Regions from separate parts of the Homo sapiens genome. Here region 2 is linked to region 1. The links are contacts of gene promoters, found by promoter capture Hi-C in human tissues and cell types (Jung and others, 2019). All regions are on one chromosome and are shown on one strand. Each heading gives the region's core, a stretch centred on a gene start or on the middle of the fragment in contact. The rest is flanking DNA. Distances are from core to core; before and after follow the strand shown. Region 1 holds the start of ZSCAN32 (zinc finger and SCAN domain containing 32). Region 2 has its middle 6.0 kb from the start of SLX4.

The links. Contacts are between HindIII fragments. The study calls those that stand out against the background at their distance.
Region 2: a contact is called between a fragment that was not itself captured here and the fragment with the promoter of ZSCAN32 in region 1, in 1 of the 25 tissues and cell types used here (spleen).

The regions. Positions count from the first base shown.
Region 1 is chr16:3,399,194-3,402,620 of GRCh38, reverse strand. ZSCAN32 (zinc finger and SCAN domain containing 32) reads left to right here and starts at 1,617. Exons shown (of 7, transcript NM_001284527.2): 1 at 1,617-1,676. ZNF174 (zinc finger protein 174) reads right to left here and starts at 1,406. Exons shown (of 3, transcript NM_003450.3): 1 at 215-1,406. The coding sequence starts at 616. LOC105371059 (a long non-coding RNA gene) reads right to left here. Exons shown (of 4, transcript XR_007064949.1): 3 at 3,095-3,427; 4 at 2,952-2,990. RefSeq lists silencers at 1,060-1,279, 1,830-1,979 and an enhancer at 1,357-1,856. The HindIII fragment of the contact is 10,964 bases long and covers 1-3,427 here.
Region 2 is chr16:3,616,089-3,619,082 of GRCh38, reverse strand. It overlaps a transcript of DNASE1 not described here. Among named protein-coding and RNA genes, the nearest start is that of SLX4, 6.0 kb to the right of the region's middle. The HindIII fragment of the contact is 7,289 bases long and covers 1-2,994 here.

The DNA.
Region 1 (3,427 bases), core at 368-2,867:
CGGGCGCGGTGGCGGGCGCCTGTAGTCCCAGCTACTCGGGAGGCTGAGGCAGGAGAATGGCGTGAACCCGGGAGGCGGAGCTTGCAGTGAGCCGAGATAGCGCCACTGCACTCGGGCCTGGGCGAAAGAGCAAGATTCCGTCTCAAAAAAAGAAAAAAAAAAAAAAAGAAAAGAAAAAGAAATCCCCAGGATGATGGGAGAGGACCCTCCTTACCCACTGCTTTGGTTTCTTGGATGCTCTGTGAAAATCTTCCACGAGGGTCACAATCTCCTTGCTGCTCATTGGACATCGATGCCTGACCCGAGCCTGGATCTCCGGGGGCAGGATGGTCAGGAACTGCTCCATCACCAGAAGCTCCAAAATCTGCTCCTTGGTGTGCAGCTCGGGTTGCAACCACTGACGGCAGAGCTGTCGGAGCTGGGAGAGAGCCTCTTGGGGTCCAGACACCTCTTGATAACAAAAGCGTCTGAAGCTCTGGCGGCAGAGCTCAGGATCTGGGCAGTTTTTTTGCAGAGGAGGGCCCCGTTTCTCTTCTAGTTTGGCTATTATGTGTCTCTCTTGCTTGGAGGAAGCTTCAGTGTTGGAGCTTAAAGTTATCTCCATTTTAGCTGCCATTTTGGGCGTCAGGAGACAACTCTCTCCTTGTAAACGGGTTAAGCCTTTGGGATCATGACCCTGGAGAAGTCTCTGAATACTAGAAAGATTCTAGAAACGAAGGTTCTCTGAGGATGTTAGGGGGAACGGGATGCAGAGACAAAGCCTCACTTGCTAGCCTTTACTAGCCAAACTCAAGACAACGCGGTCCCTGGGAGTGGGAAGAGTTTTGTCTTCTTGTCAGTTTTTTGCAGTCTTGCAAAGGAGAAAAGTCATAACGTCCTAAAAGGACTCTGGGGAAAAAATACTTCTTTTATTTCAGTAGCAAGCACACAGGTCTCGGATTTAATGAGCAATACGCTCTAACCGGCGGGTGGAGCGGAATCCCTAGGAAAAGTTCAAGCTGTCGCAGGTAGCTTGCCCCAACTCTCCCGCATCCTGGCGGAAACCGACCGGGTGCATGTCGCCGGGTGCTAAACGGTAGAGCTAAGCGAGGCCACAGCGCCAGCCGGGGGTGTGAGGTAGCGAACAGCCTCCTGCACGCGAGCAAAGCGGCTGCTCGCTGCCGAGGCGCCGCAGGCCCAGTGGCTCCGGCCTCCAGGGCGGCCCCGCGGCCCAGCCAGCCCCAGGCCTGGCGAAGCTGCCGCAACCCGATGCGCAGCTGAACTCCACGCCCGGTGTGAGCTCGGACTGGCGACTGCGACACCGGTACCCCGAACAGCCCGGCGCCCCGCACCCACCTGCAGCCGACTCACCTCTCCGGGAACCCAAGACCGAGGGACTTAGGACCCGACACCGGCGAGCACGGGCTGGGGGCGGGGCCGATGCCACTCGCTGCGGAGACGCCCACTAGCTGCTGAGGACAACTACTGACAGGGCCCGCCTCCTGCCAAGGGCATTCTCTACCGTCTATTGGTTGCTGCGCCTGTCAATACCGTCGCAGTGCATCCCGGGAGCTGCAGTCCGGCAATTCGGCTTGCGGGCCTGCGCAGGGGCGTGCGTAATGGGCGGAGCGAATCGCGCCGCTGACTTCCGGCCCGGAGGCTGAGGGAGTTTGTGGAGTCGCGAGTGCTGGTGTCCGGTGAGTTCTCCGCTTCCTTGCGGCCGGCGGGATTAGCCGCTGGGCCCTGCGACGGCCGAGGAGCCCCTCCCCGCTGGGAGTCTTCTCCGAGGCGTTCGGGTCCGGCCCCGATGGGCGTCTCCTTGGGACAGGCAGCCTCCCTCAGGCCGGGCGTCCCCAGACGCGCCGCGATCACCGTGCCCCGCTCCCACCGTGCGGATCACCCCGAGCCTGAGCGCCGGCGCCCCGGGACCCCCTGGCCTTGACCCTGCTCATCTCGTCCCTGTCTCGCCCACTCCCTACTCATCCACAGTGCCTAGCCCTGGCACCGAGTGCGTTCTGAGTACTCAATAAATAGTTAACTAAGTGAAAAACCTATCAACCTGGCTCCCCATCCTCATGCTACATTTTTTTCCGAGTGTTTGGGCCATCGCTAGAGTGAAGTAAAATTTTCAGAGAACAGCATTTTAAAATTTAACGATGAGTGGGAGGTAAGGGGTCAAAAGGGGTCAAGAAGGGTGCAGGTTCCGCCTTCTGCATGAAGTTAGAAGAGCTTTTATTAAATTCTTCTTCAGCCAGGTAAGGCACAGGATGAACATAATGAAGGCAAGGGGTGCTGGTTCTAGTCCTGGCCTTGCTGCCTAGGAGCTGTGCTGTGTGATGCTTTAGGCAAGATACTTCATCGCTCTCAGTTTCTTTTTGGCTAGAAAGCAGTGCTAACAATAATAATGCCCTTGATTTCTCTATCTCTAGAAGCACTGAAATGTAAAGAGAATTTAAGTGAAGGCAGTTCAAGTTCCTTGAGAAAAGGGAACCCAAATCCATTTTTAAAATATAAAAAAATTTCTTTAATTTTTAAAAAACATTTACCATCATAACCATTTTTAAGTGTACAGCTCAGTAGTCCTGAGTATATTCATCTTGTTGTGCATGCTGGATCCATTTTAATACCACATGGTGAGGGTGTATCAGCCCCTGGAGAAAATGTAAATTACGATCTGCTTTAATCTGTGTTTTAAGTAGATAAAAACCAACACAAACTCATTAAAAAAGACTGCCTTCGCGGGTGCAGTGGCTCACACCTGTAATCCCAGCACTTTGGGAGGCCAAGGTGGGAGGATCACTTGAGCACAGGAGTTTGAGACCAGCCTGGGCAACATAGTGAAACTCCACCTCTACAAAAAATACAAAAGTTAGCTTCTATTTAAAATTATTTTTAAGGTCGGGCATGGTGGCTTATACTTGTAATCCTAACACTTTGGGAGGTTGAGGTGGGAGGATTGCTTGAGTTCAGGAGTTTGAGACCAGCCTGGGCAACAGAGTGAGACTCCATCTCTAAAGATAAAAAAACAAATAAAATTATTTTTAAAAGTTATTTATTAATTTTAAATTATATAAAACTATTTTTAAAATTAACTCTTAAAAAAATATTGCCTTACATAAACTGGCCTTGGAGATCCAAACATGTTGTCAAGACTTGAGTATATTGTCCTCTTGTAAACAGGCTCACTCCTGTGATGGAAGAGTGGAGTAGAGAGTGGGACATAGTTGGAGACAACTCTGATCTTACATTTGCCCAATTTACCAATTCCTAGAAAATGAAGAGCTTTCCCTACCTCTCATGTAAAATCTGAGAAAAGAATTTTGATAGGCCTAGCTGTGTGTCATATGCCCACTTCTGGGGAAGTGGGTATTGTAATTAATATCCCCACCAGAACCAATGAGAGGGACTTTTTCTTTTTTTGAGACAGTCTCGCTCTTGTTGCCCAGGC
Region 2 (2,994 bases), core at 283-2,782, 220 kb before region 1:
ATTCTGGATGATAGAGTGTAACCCCGTCTCAAAAAAAAAAAAATTACCCAGGGGCCCTTCTAGCTCTAGCTACAGGTAGGCTGAGTCAGGAAGATAAGGAAGTTGGGAAGATCAGAAAGATCACTTGATCCCTGGCAGTCTGAGGCTGCCATGAGTCATGATTGTGCCACTGTACTCGAGCCTGGGCAACAGAAATGAGACCTTGTCACTAAAAAAAAATTACAAAACGGAAATAAGCAAATGTTCAGTGTAACATGTATTCCATTCTATACTACATTTTGTTCATTCATGCACTGAAGGGCATTTAGACTGAATATGAGGTGTACACGTTTTTGTTTGAGCATTTCTTCTTTTTGACGGAGTTTCATTCTTGTTGCCCAGGCTGGAGTGCAATGGCACCATCTCAGCTCACCATAAACTCTGCCTCCCAGGTTCAAGTGATTCTCCTGCCTCAGCCTCCCGAGTAGTTGGGATTCAGGCACCCACCACCAAGCCCGGCTAATTTTTATAGTTTTAGTAGAGACGGGGTTTCACCATATTGGCCAAGCTGGTCTCAAACTCCTGACCAGAGGTAATCCGCCCGCCTTGGCCTCCCAAAGTGCTGGGATTACGGGCGTGAGCCACCGCGCCTGGCCCTTAAACACTTTTTCAATTTTTTGGGACATATCCTTAGAAGCGGAATTGCTGAATCATATGATGATTTTATCTTTAACTTGTTCAGGAACCTCAAACTGTTTCCCACAGCAGCTGTACCATTTTACATTCCCTCCAGCAATGTATCAGAGTTCTAACTTCCTTACATCCTCACCAATACTTTTTTTTTTTTTTTTTTAGGAAATGGCTGTCCTACTGGCCATGAAGTGGTATCTCACTGCAGTTTCAATTTGCACTTCTCTAACGATTCATGATGCTGATCATCTTTTCATGTGCTTGTTGGCACCTGCCACTCTTTGGAATGTCTATTCAAGTCCTATGTCCATTTTTTTTTTTTTTTTTTGGTCTTGGCTTCTTCACAGGACAAGTTCTACCATGCCCATTTTCTGAGTTGTCTTTTCATTGAGTTGTAAAAGTTCTTTCTATATTGTGCTACTAGAATGTCTTAGTCCATTTGGGCTGCTCTTACAAAATACCACAGACTGGGTAGCTAATAAACAACAGAAATTCTCACTGTTCTGGAGGCTGGGAAGTCCAAGATCAAGGTGTTGGCAGACTCTGTCTGGTGAAGGCCCACTTCCTCTAATGGCAGAAAGGGTAGGGGGTTTCTCTCTTGGGCCTCTTTTCTTTTTTTAAAAAAATTTTTGTAAAAATGGAGTCTCACCTTGCTGCCCAGGCTGGTCTCAAACTCCTGGGCCCAAGCAATCCTCCCGCCTCCGCCTTCCAAAGTGCTGGGATTACCGGCATGAGCCACCACACATGGCCACAAGGGCCTCCATCCTTATCCTTATGCACTAATCCCATCACCTTGCGGTTGAGGCCTTCACATATGAATTGGGTGGGGGGAGACATAAACATTTAGACAGCAGCATAGATTCTTATCAGGTATATGATTAACAAATATCTCCCATTCTGTGGGTTGTCTTCTCATTTTCTTGATAGTATACTTTTACACAAAAAAGTTTTTAATTTTGATTAAATCCAATTCATTATTTTTTGTTGTTTCTGCTTTTAGTGTCATATCTAGAGTCTACTGCCAACTCCAAGGTCATAAAGATTTACCCTTGTAGTATTCTTTTTTTTTTTTTTTTTTTTTTTTTTTGAGATGGAGTTTCGCTCTTGTTGACTAGGCTGGAGCGTAGTGGTGCGATCTCGGCTCACCGCAACCTCCATCTCCCGGGTTCAAGCGATTCTCCTGCCTCAGCCTCCCGAGTAGCTGGGATTACGGGCGCACACCACCACGCCCTGCTAATTTTGTATTTTTAGTACAGACGGGGTTTCTCCACGTTGGTCAGGCTGGTCTCAAACTCCTGACCTCTGGTGATGCCAAAAGTGCTGGGATTACAGGGGTGAGCCACCACGCCCAGCCTACCCTTGTATTCTTCTAAGAGTTTTATAGTTTTCACTCTTCCATTGGGTCTTTGATCCATTCTGAGTTAATATTTGTACATGATATGAGGTAAGGGTCTAACTTCATTCTTTTGCATGTGATATCCTGTTATCCCAGCTCCATTTGTGGAAGACACTACTCTTTCACCATTGACTAGTCTTGGCATCCCGGACAAAATCAATTGCTCATAAATATAAGGGTTTATTTCTAGACTCTCAATTCTCTTCCACTGACCCATATGTCTATCCTTATGCTGGTACAGTACCACACAGTCTTGATTACTATAGCTTGTAATAAGTTTTGATATAAGGAAGTACGTTCTTGAAAAAGAACAAAGTGGCTATTTGGGTTTTGGGTATTAAGAGCCCCTTGCAATTACATATGAATTTATTTATTTATTTATTTAATTTATTTATTTGAGACACAGTCTCACTGTATCACCCAGGCTGGAGTGCAGTGTTGTGATCTTGGATCACTGCAACCTCCATCTCCTGGGTTCAAGGGATTCTCCCGCCTCAGCCTTCCAAGTAGCTGGGATTACAGGTACCTGCCACCACATCCGGCTAATTTTTATATTTTTAGTAGACATGGGGTTTCACCATGTTGGTCAGGCTGGTCTCGAACTCCTGACCTCAAGTGATCTGCCTGACTCAGACTCCCAAAATGCCGGGATTACAGGCGTGAGCCACCGCACCCGGCCAATTCCATATGAATTTTAACATCGGTTTTTCCACTTCTGCAAAAAAATTAAAACGTTGTTGGGATTTTGATAGGGATTATGCTGGTAGATGCTTTGGGGGGAGTTTTGCTGTCTGAAACCTCCCTTAAATTTGTCTAGCAGAACATATAGAGCAAAATCACACAAAGGCAGCAGTGGCAGGCAGCACACTGAAAGAAATGCAGTGTAACTCATCTCGAATAACTTTTGTATACTTATACACGTAAAAACA